3 separate regions of the Homo sapiens genome follow, and all the other regions are linked to region 3. Evidence: promoter capture Hi-C in 16 types of primary human blood cells and fetal thymus (Javierre and others, 2016). All regions are on one chromosome and are shown on one strand. The core of a region is centred on a gene start or on the middle of the fragment in contact, and the rest is flanking DNA. Distances in the headings are between cores, read along the strand shown. Region 1 overlaps TDRKH (tudor and KH domain containing). Region 2 has its middle 20 kb from the start of MRPL9. Region 3 holds the start of SELENBP1 (selenium binding protein 1).

Evidence for each region. Contacts are between HindIII fragments. The CHiCAGO score rates a contact against its expected background, and 5 or more counts as called.
Region 1: a fragment that was not itself captured here is called in contact with the fragment with the promoter of SELENBP1 in region 3 in 2 of 17 cell types (M2 macrophages and erythroblasts); the score reaches 10.4 in M2 macrophages.
Region 2: a contact is called between a fragment that was not itself captured here and the fragment with the promoter of SELENBP1 in region 3, in 2 of 17 cell types (M2 macrophages and M1 macrophages). The highest score is 8.2, in M2 macrophages.

The regions. Positions count from the first base shown.
Region 1 is chr1:151,780,130-151,783,681 of GRCh38, forward strand. TDRKH (tudor and KH domain containing) reads right to left here. Exons shown (of 13, transcript NM_001083965.2): 2 at 2,770-2,920; 3 at 1,352-1,458; 4 at 1-11. The coding sequence starts at 2,893. Among named protein-coding and RNA genes, the nearest start is that of TDRKH, 8.6 kb to the right of the region's middle. The HindIII fragment of the contact is 4,445 bases long and covers 1-3,552 here.
Region 2 is chr1:151,741,296-151,745,029 of GRCh38, forward strand. No RefSeq gene overlaps it. Among named protein-coding and RNA genes, the nearest start is that of MRPL9, 20 kb to the right of the region's middle. The HindIII fragment of the contact is 2,727 bases long and covers 710-3,436 here.
Region 3 is chr1:151,370,682-151,374,254 of GRCh38, forward strand. It overlaps SELENBP1 (selenium binding protein 1), which reads right to left and starts at 2,024. Exons shown (of 12, transcript NM_003944.4): 1 at 1,957-2,024. The coding sequence starts at 1,960. RefSeq lists enhancers at 1-631, 1,378-1,961, 1,962-2,545. The HindIII fragment of the contact is 17,083 bases long and covers 1-3,573 here.

The DNA.
Region 1 (3,552 bases), core at 520-3,019, 410 kb after region 3:
TGTTTCCGCAGCTGCAAAGAAAAGGACATTTGGCAGTACATTCTGGAAGAGCTCCCATTTGAGCCCAGCTACAGACACTCTAAAACAAACCCTGGAGGTAGATAGAATTAGCCAAAGGAATTAGCTAATACTATCTATACAACCAGTCCTCAATTACTTTATATACAACCTCAGTTACTATCTATACAACCAGTCCTCACTTTATGGAAGGAGATTAGTAACAAATGTAACCCCAAATAGCAGTAAATTCAAACCCATTTATCTTTGTGTTTAGAATCCTTTCCCCTTACTAATTTTATTTGGATTAGAGAATCAAATATTTTGTTTTCTTGACATTCCAGCTGAACAATGGAAGATGGTAAGAAGAACCAGGTAGCCATTCAATATTTACTGTCAATTAATGAGAGTTCATTAATTCCATAGTAGAAAAGGATAATTTGACCAGGCGCGGTGGCTCACGCCTCTAATCCCAGCACTTTGGGAAGCCAAGGCGGCTGGATCACGAGGTCAGGAGATCGAGACCATCCTGGCTAACATGGTGAAACCCTGTCTCTACAAAAAATACAAAAAATTAGCTGGGAGTGGTGGCGGGCACCTGTAGTCCCAGCTACTTGGGAGGCTGAGGCAGGAGAATGATGTGAACATGGGAGGCGGAGCTTGCAGTGAGCCAAGATCATGCCACTGCATTCCAGCCTGGGTGACAGAGCCAGACTCTGTCTCAAAAAAAAAAAAAAAAAGGATAATTCAAGTTATACCATGCTGACAATCACCCAGTCAAAAACCCGTATTTCAAGCTAAGTCATCCTTTCTCTAGGGAGAAGTACTCTTCTCTAGAAGGGAAGTAGCTAAAAAGTTTAGTTAGCTAAAAAGTTCCTCTATTTGTTCTTTTAAAAATATACATAGTGGTTGGGCCCAGTGGCTCACACCTGTAATCCCAGCACTCTGGGAGGCCGAGGCAGGCGGATCACCTGAGGTCAGGAGTTCGAGATCAGCCTGGCCAACATGACGAAACCTCGTCTCCACTAAAAATACCAAAAATTCGCTGGGCGTGGTGGCGGGTGCCTGTAATCCCAGCTACTCGGGAGGCTGAGGCAGGAGAATCACTTGAACCCAGGAGGCGGATGTTGCAGTGAGCCGAGATCGTGCCATTGCACTCCAGCCTGGACAACAAGAGCGAAACTCCATCTCAAAAAAAAAAAATATATATATATATATTTTATATATACACACACACATACACACACACACAGAGCATGTGAATGTTTTGTGATATGGGGTCAGTGGAAGGAAACAAGAAATCAATAAACAGAATCAATCCTTGGGAAAGCAGACTGCCTACTCACACACTTACCTGTTTAATATTGGCTCCTTGCCGGCCAATGATGAGTTTCACAGCCTCCTGGGGAACCCGCATCTCTATCTCAATGTCATCTTCCCCAACAAATGTCAGCCGCTCTTCTGCACAGATCATTGTTCATCAGATCAGACTTAGATAACACCCAAAGCTAGTATAACTACCAGTCCTCCCCAGAATCTGGCTGTCAAAGAGACACTGATCCAAGAGATAAAGTGAGGATCTCAACCATAACAACAAGGAAAAGTGGCATCTGAATGGGAATTAGAAGGTCCCAAAGGATCAGAGATGGGCATTTTCTCTGGGACACTGTTTCAGATGCTAAAATGGGAAAAGCAGATTCTGCAATAAACAGGTGCTGGGGTTTGGGCAAACTACTTCTCCCAAGACATGACTACTGGAGAAGAATGAAGGCCAAAAGTTACCTGAGGGGTCCATTAGGCTCAGAACTTCTCCTGACTGATAGGTACATAAGTCATTTCTCTAGGTCCTATTCTCTAGATCCAGCCTTTGAGGTAAGTGCCTTCTACTAACAACTAATTAGAGAAAAGGAATATATAAAAAAGATGAGTATAGAAATTAAAAAAGAACTCTTTGCTGTGTTGATGTTGCTGAAGAAAGCACATCAATGGAGTTATAAAATGAGTTCATTTCATAGACTAGCTTACTTTGCTATGTAAGAACATAGCAAAGACTAGGCCAGGTGCAGTGGCTCATGCCTGTAATCTCAGCACTTTGGGAGGCCGAGGCAGGTGGATCACTTGAGGTCAGCCACCCTGGTGGTGAAACCCCGTCTCTACTAAAAATACAAACATTAGCCAGGAGTGGTGGCACACGCCTGTAATCCCAGCTACTAGGGTGGCTGAGGCAGGAGAACTGCTTGAACTCGGGAGGCAGAGGTTGCAGTGAGCCGAGATTGCTCCACTGCACTCCAGTGTGGGCGACAGAGTGAGACTCTGTCTCAAAGAAAAAAAAAAGACTAAATAATTTTAGTCAAAGATTCCTCACAGAAAGTCAATTAAAATACCTGGGTCAGGCATGGAGGCACATGCCTGTAATCCTAGCACTTTGGGAGGCCGAGGCAGGTGGGTTGCTTGAGCTCAGGAGTTCAAGACCAGCCTGGGCAACATGGGAAAACCCCATCTCTACAAAAAATACAGGCCTGTGGTCCCAGCTACTTGGAGGCTGAGGTGGGAGGATTGCTTGAGCCCAGGAGGTCGACACTACAGTGAGCCAAGATTGTGCCACTGTACGCCAGGCTAGGTGACAGAGTGAGACCCTGTCTCAAAAAAACCCCACAAAAAACCCCAAAACAAAACACACACAATACCTGGCAAGGAAAGAGTTTTTTTCAATTTAACAAGGCAGGAGCATGTCTGAACATTTTCACACACACAGTCATAGGGTTCACGTACCTCTGCTTTCCCTATACCTGCGGTATAGGATATAGGCAACTGTTGCACTGGCTGGGATCCCAAGGCCCAGGGCTATTTTCTGAATGGTGGACAGGCTTGTCCAAGAAGTCCGTTCAGTAGACATTTTCTGCTGTACTCTTTGACTTATATCCTGAAACAAGCAAAGCAGGGAAAAGAGGGAGGTTTCATCCAATCCTTTTATGAATAGCAGAGAGGCATGGGAGCACATTATTACTGAAAAGACTACTACTGCCTACCTTCCAATTTCAAGAGCTTCAGCAATTTCAAAATTTATTTCATATAAAAAGGGCTCAGGGTATTTTTTAAAAGTTAGCTAAGGTACACATAGAATTAAATAGAAGCATACTTCACTTTCCCCACCCAAGTCAGTTTTAAAAGACAAAAAAAATTAAATGAATCAAATATTTGAAATATATATACTTAGATTTCATATTAAATTATTTAAAATTACTTATCTAAGTCCTTTTATGCCTCCAGGGCTTTCCAGAAGCTGCTGCCTCTGCAAGAAATGCCATTCCAGGCTTAGTAAAGGCCTTACTATTTATCTTTGTTGGAAGTACAGTCTTCATTTACTGTCTCTACTTTTGGTTTCTATTTATTTACTCCTTAACGAACAGTGAAATGGGGTTCTTCCCTGCTCCATCGCCAAAACTGTAACTTCCCAGATAATCAACCTACAGGTCATGCATGGAGCCTTATCTCACCCATCTCTCTGCGGTAGCAGGAAGGTGGCCACTCCCTCCACAAAACTCTTTCCTTGGT
Region 2 (3,734 bases), core at 823-3,322, 370 kb after region 3:
ACTGCGCCTGGCCTATGGGAGCCCATTCTTAGGATATGGGATTTAGTACTCTGACAAAGACCCTAAGAGATGTTGCTAACATTCTGATAGTGTAACTGAGTACCCCATTTTCCAAGAGATAGTTTATTTTTTTCTCTCTTTTTCTCTTTTCTGCTTTTCCCCTATAACTGCATTTAGAAATGCAGTTATAGCCTTTTACCTCCTCTTCACCAGACACTCCCTACAGGGCAAGTTCATCTAACTGTGTGTTTAGAAGTCCCAGAGCAGAACTCTCACCCAAGCAGGAGGTTACCTGAAGAGACAACCTACAAGTCCATCTACAAGCCAATGTATGCCTGCTATGAGACTCTCTCACCTGGAGAGTTTTTGGCTGCTTTGGCAACCTAGTCCTGCCCATGAAGGTGCCAGTAGTCACCAGCTCGGCCACCCAGTAGACAAGGCACCAAAGCGAGTATGCAGGCACCCCAGCTGCCTGCTTCTTCCCCTGCATGCCATTCATGTCAGCATGCCAGGTCCCCTTTTAAAAGCACCTGTTTTCTGCTCCAAGAGTGAAGTGGTACCCTAAAAGCCGGAGGCTATACCTTCTTCCCCTAAGCTAGCTTTGGAATAAAAAGTCGCTTTCTTTATACCAGACCTTGCTTTTGTTAATTGGACTCTGTAAGCAGCAAGCAACTGAACCTGTTTTGGTTACAGTGGGATGGCTCTGGGAAGCTTGGAGAAAGTCATGGCCCACATTAAGTGAAGTAGGCGTGTGAGGAGTGCTGTGGCATATAGTGGAAGAGGTGTTAAATGGCTCAAAAGAGTGGGCCTGCTAGGCCGGGTGTGGTGGCTCATGCCTGTAATCCCAGCACTTTGGGAGGCTGAGGTAGGAGGACTGCTTGAGCCCAGGAGTTCAAGCACAGCCTGGGCAACATAATAAGACCCCATCTCTATTTAAAAAAGAAAGAGTGGGTATGCTAGAATTAATATGTAAAGTCAGAAAACTCACCAAATGCTTATGTTTCATCAGACATCCCAAAGAATATTCACTTTCTTTAAAAGGCTCAAAAGAGTGGGCATGCGAGGCTGGGCGTGGAAAGAATACTCAATTTCTTGAAGTGATGAAGAATGTGCTGGTAAGAGAAGCTCAGGGTTGGCTGTTCTCTGTAGGCCAGGGCTGACATAGGGTATACGGTCACAGAGCTGGGCTTACTAGTAGCAGAGGGACAATAGGATGCCAGAGTCAAAGTAGCAGAATTATTGTGCTGAGCAGAAAGGTTGGAGAGGTAGCCAGGGTCTGACCAGCAGAGAAATTTGGCGATCATTAATAGAGCATGGGTTCCTGGGGACAAGATAGATGGCACTCAACAAATACGTTGTTCAATGCATTAAAAAACAAACAACAACAACAACAACAAAAAGAAATTAAGGATGGATGATTAGGAGGTGGAGGGCAGCCACCCTGATAAAAAGTTACAATTCCTTACTGTTTCTGCACCCGCTCAGCTTAAAAAAAAATTCATCTTTACTGAGGTACAATTTACCTACATTAAAATTCACCCATTTTAAATATATACTTTAATGAGTTTTACAGATATGTACAGTTGTTCAGCCATTAACACAAGATATGCAACATTTCCATCATGCCCCCAAATTTCCTTGTGGACAGTGGTGCGCTGGATCCCACTTATGCCACCTTGGGAGATTCAGCTGTTAACTAGCCTTTCTTCTCTACTAAATGTTCGGTCATGTCACATCGGTAATTTGAAATTGGCAATGGAGGGGTATTTACACCATGGAAATCAGCAAATGCTACAAACCAGGCTCCCTCTCCACCAAGAGCCAGTTGTTAAACATTTCCCAGGACACCGCTGCTCATTACCCTCTGCAGTCAATTCCCATCCTCAGCTCTGGCCCCTAGCAACCACTGATAAATTGCCACTATAGTCTTGCTTTTTAAAGAATTTCACATAAATGGAATCATATAGCATGTAGTCTTTTGTGTTCAACTTCTTTCATTATACTTTTAGGTTTATCACTGTTGTACATATCATTTGTTCCTCTCTCTTGTTGGGTAGTATTCCACTGTTTTTGCAGCAGTTGATGGATGTTTGGATTGTTTTCATTTGGGGACTATCATGAATAAAACTCCAATGAACTTTCACATATCATTAGTAACTTTTCATTTCTCTTTGGTAAATATCTGGGAATAGGATTGCTGTGTTAAATGGTAAGTGCATGTTTTAACTTTGTAAGGAACTGCCAAACTCTTTTTCAAAGTTCCTACCTCATTCTGCATTCCTACCAGCAATGTATGACCAGTTTATCTGCATTTTTAGCAGGATTTGGTGCTGTTGCTATTTTTTATTTCAGCCATTCTGATAGGTGTGTAGTAACACATTGTAGTTTTAATTTACATTTCTCTGATAGCTAATCATGTTGAACATCTTTTCATATGCTTGAATATTCTTTTGGGTGAAATGTATATTCATGTTTTTTGCCCATTTTCTAAGTGGATTGTTTGTGGGGTTTTTTGTTTGTTTGTTTTGTTTTTTTGATAGGGGTTCACTCTGTTGCACAGGCTGGAGTACAGTGGCACGATCATAGCTCACTATAACGTGGAACTCCTGGGCTCAAGTGATCCTCTTGTCTCAGTCTCCTATGTAGCTGGGTCTACAGGTGTGCACGGCCACACCTGGCTAATTTTTAAATGTTTGGTAGAGATGGGGTCTCCTTATGTTATCCAGGCTGTTCTCCAACTCCTGGCTTCAAGTGATCCTCCTACCTTGGCCTCCCAAAGTGCTGGAATTACAGGCAGTTTTTTTGTTTTGTTTTGTTTTTACTGTTGAGTTTGAGGGTTTTTTTTTTTTTTTTTACTGGAATTACAGGCAGTTTTTTTGTTTTGTTTTGTTTTTACTGTTGAGTTTGAGGTTTTTTTTTTTTTTTAATATACTGAAGATACTGGTCCTTTGTTAGATATGTAATTTGCAAATATTTTCTCCCAGTACCTTGTCTTTTCACCCTCTTCACATGGGCTTTCCAAGGGCAAAAGTTTTTAATTTTGAGAGGTCCAAAATCTCAATTTTTTTTTCATGGATTGTGCTTTTGGTATCATGTCTAAGAACTCTTTGTCTAATCCTAGAATTTGAAAGTGTTCTTCTGTTTTAAAAATAAGTTTTATAGTTTTACAAGTTACATTTAAGTCTTTTGCCATTTTGAGCTAATTTTTATAGAAGGTATTAGACTTAGATCGAGTTTCATTTTTTGCCTATGGCTGTCCAGTTGCTCCAACATCATTTGTTGAAAAGGCTAGCTTTCCTCCAGCGAATTGATTTTTTTAAATTGAATTGAGGTAGTACCTTTTCATTGAATTGAGGTAGTACCTTTGTACTACCTCAGCACTATGTTGAATATAAAAACATTCAGACTTTCACCATTAAGTGTAATGTTAACTGTAAGCTTTTTACAGGTACTCTGTCAAGTTAAGGAAGTTTCTCTGTATTCTTATTTTTCTGAGAGTTGTTTTTTTCTTTAAATCACAAATGAGTGTTATTTTGTCAAATGAGTCTTCTGCATTACTTGATTTTATTTTGTGATTTTCTTCTTTAGAGTTTTAATAGGATGGATTACATTGATTGATTTTTTAATATTGAACCAGCCTTGCATCTTTGGAATGAGATGGGTATGGTGTGTAATGCTTTTTATACATTACTGAGATCTATTTACTGATACTTTGTTAATGCTTTTTGCATCTA
Region 3 (3,573 bases), core at 774-3,273:
TTGGGGCCTGCTGGGGAGCAGGGGTTAAAGAATACCCAGAGGGGGTGGCAGGCTGAAAGAAACCCTGGAGTGGAGTCCACAGGCCTGGGCCCTGTCTCCTGCCTTGTCCTGTGGCCAGTCCAGCCTCTGCCTTCACAGCTGGGCCGCAAGTGGGGAGCCAGGAGTAGGCAGAGTGGGGCCTCCACTGGGGCCTGGGACTCCCACTCGCAGCAGCCAAGAGACTTAGGAAGCTGAGAGGCAGCAACAGCGTTCAGAGTCTGGAAACCTGGTTTCAAGTCCCAGTTTTGACGCCCCGTTTCTCCATTTTCTCCTCTTCATTTACGAAAAGTGGGCAATAATGATATTCTACCTACTTTGCTAGGTAGATATGGAGGACAAATAAGACAATGTATTCCAAAGGCCTTTCATAAAAATGAATTAGGCCGGGTGCGGTGGCTCATGCCTGTAATCCCAGCACTTTGGGAGGCTGAGGCGGAAAGATCACCTAAGGTCAGGAGTTTGAGACCAGCCTCACTAACATGGCAAAACCCTGTCTCTATTAAAAATACAAAAATTACCCTGTATTAAAAATTAGCCTGTATTAAAAAATACAGGCATACACCTGTAATCCCAGCTACTTGGGAGGCTGAGGCAGGAGAATCACTTGAACCTGGGAGGTGGAGGCTGCAGTAAGCCGAAATCACGCCACTGCAGTCACTCCAGCCTGGGCAACAAGAGTGAAATTCTGACTAAAAAAAAAAAAAAATAATGAATTACTGTGTAAATATGGGAAGGGCTGTGCCAGAGGAGAGGAGAATGCCAGGGAGTGCTCGATGCCCAGCGAGAGGGCTGGAGGTGGGGCAGGGAGAGAGAGAGAGGTCCAGTTCACAGGAGTTAAGGAGACTGGTTCTGTTACACAATCTTGCTAAGTCGGGGCTTGGCACCAGATGACAGGGGGTGGGGAAGGAGGTTGCTGGATACAGAAGGGAAAGGAGATTTTAAAACTCCAAGACCTCAAGACAGAGATACAAAAAATACAAAGCTAGGGAGAAGCTGAGAGGGAAGTAAAAGTGCAGAGATGGAGCTGCCCGCTCTGCAGCCTCGGCCCACCCCACACCCCAGCAACCCCAGCCCCAGCATTTCTTAGGGTCAGGCCTGGCATGCCACTGCAGCCCCAGGGAGCATCATTCCTCTTTCTGGGGAATACCCCCATCTGAAACATCTCAAGCAAGGTCTCGGAGCAGCTTTGGGTTTGGGATGGACTCATGGAAAGCTCAAGTGGGTTTTCCATGTCAGGCTGGCTGCTGGGCATTCTGCCAGCTCGGCATTCTGCCAGCTCAAGAGCCAGCCCCGAGCGGGGAAGGACCTCCCAACCAAACCTCAGTTCCTTCTTAGCCTGTCACCCAGAAGCCTACAGATGGAGGAATAGCAGGGCCAAGGGGGATTTAGGGGTGGGGGAGGCATTGAAACAGGTCCCCAGTGAAAGAGTGTGGGGGTCTCTGATTTCCCTCCCAGAGAGCTTTGCTGTGTGGAGTAGCTAGAGAGTGACCTGGGCACAGAAAGGCTTTGGACTCCCTACCTCGCTGGAGTACAAAGTTGGCCCATGGCTGAAATCAGGATCACCTCTCTACTATGTGAGGGCCAGGGACCTAGTGGTGTTTTCTAAGAGCGCCCATCTGATTTTCCCAGCTGCAGAAAGGCACCCTGGTCCCAGCCTCTGCTGGATGGAGCCAAGTCAGGGCCCAGGATCCCATCTCCCAGCAGTGCCTCTGCCCGTCTTCCTCAGAAAGTTTGGCTGAGCTGGGAAATGCAGTGGGGTGGTGGGGGAGGGGGTGTGCAGACTGGGGACAATGAAGCAGAGTCCACTACTCCCTCCCCAGCTCCCCACTCAGGTTTTCTAGCATTTTCTGGAGGAGGGCCTTCCAAATTAGGGGCAGACAGAGCAGGCAATGGGTGATTGGAAACCCCTCTCCTTACCCATGCTGCCGACTGGTACACTTTGATCCCGGCGGGTTTGCTGTGCTGGTGTCAGAGGCCGCTGTTCCGGGGAAGGAGCGAAGGGAGGGAATTTATACAACCAGCTGGGGGTGGGGCAGAGAAGGAGGAGGGCCCGGGCTGTAGCCCAGAGTAAACTACTCAGGGCAGCTGGCCAGGATACTCTCAAGTGGCCTAGGGCAACTGGTGTTTGAATTATGGGGTGTGCGTGTATGTGTTTAAGTGTGTATGTGTGGGAGCCTGTGCTTTATTTATTTATTTATTTATTTAGAGACAGGGTCTCACTCTTGCCCAGGCTGGAGTGCAGTGGTGCGATCTCGGCTCACTGCAACCTCTGCCTCCTGGGTTCAAGTGATTCTCCTGCCTCATCCTCCCGAGTAGCTGGGATTACAGGCACCCACCACCATGCCCAGCAATTTTGTATTTTTAGTAGAGAAGGGATTTCACCATGTTGGCCAGGCTGGTCTCAAACTCCTGACCTCAGGTGATCCACCCGTGTCGGCCTCCCAAAGTGCTGGGATCACAGGTGTGAGCCGCTGCCCCTGACCAGCTCGTGCTCTTTAGTGGGTGCCTGGGTGTGTGTGGATTTGTGTGTCTGGGCATGTGTGTGTTCCTGTATACCTGCGTGTTGCTCGTGCACGTGCCTGCATGAGTGTGTATCTGTGCCTGTGTGTGAATTTCCACGTGTGTGAATGTGCCTGTGAGTGTGCTTGTGTGTATTTGTGCGTGTGTGTGTGTGCGCGCCTCTGTATGTGCCTACCAGAGTATCTACGCCTGTGTGTGTGTGTGTGTGTGTGTGCGCGCCTCTGTGAGTATGTGCTTGCTAGAGTATCTACGCCTGTGTGGACATGTGCATAAGTGCTTGTGTATGTGTAGTGTGTGGCTATGTGGCTGTGCATGTGCTTGTGTAAGCCTGCGCACGTATGTGTTCCTGTGTCTCCAAATGCTCGTCTTTGTATTTGGACCTGTCTCTTAGCATTTAGGGGCACCCGGGACTGTGGGCCCATCAGCCAGGGTCACTTCTTCCCTAAGATTGCCCTCTTATTCCAGATATTCATACTCTTTGGATAAAAGCTCTGGGGTGAAGTTTTTATTGGCTAGGAAAAAGAATAAAGTCTGGGCTTGAGATTGCAAGTAGAATACAGGGTTTCCAAACCAGAGTGGGGGAAGGGGAGCAAAATTGGGCCTTGGTGCATTGGGTATCTGTCTTCCTGGCTCCCATCAGTGAGGGATCATGTGCCCATCAAGGAAGACTCCCTGTGGCTGCCCGGGGCAAGGGTCTTCTCTTATCCCCAGCGCCACTCAACCCCTCTTGGCTCCATCCTGCATCTATTATCCTCACCATTGTGCCATCAGCCTGCCAGGCATCAAAGAGAGTCTTGTGTGTGCAGCTGCCCCACGGGGAAGGCCCTGAAGGCTGCTTCCTTGTCTTTGCCAGCTTCCTCCTGTCCTGACTACCTCCACTCACCCTGCCTTCACCCTTCCCTCTGGCCCTCCCCTCTTCCTCCTCCTGAGGTCTCCATCTCCTGCCTCCTCTCTATTCTCCGGCTTCTTGGCTTGGGTTAGTCCACCACCCAAGATCTGAAAGAGAAAGAAACT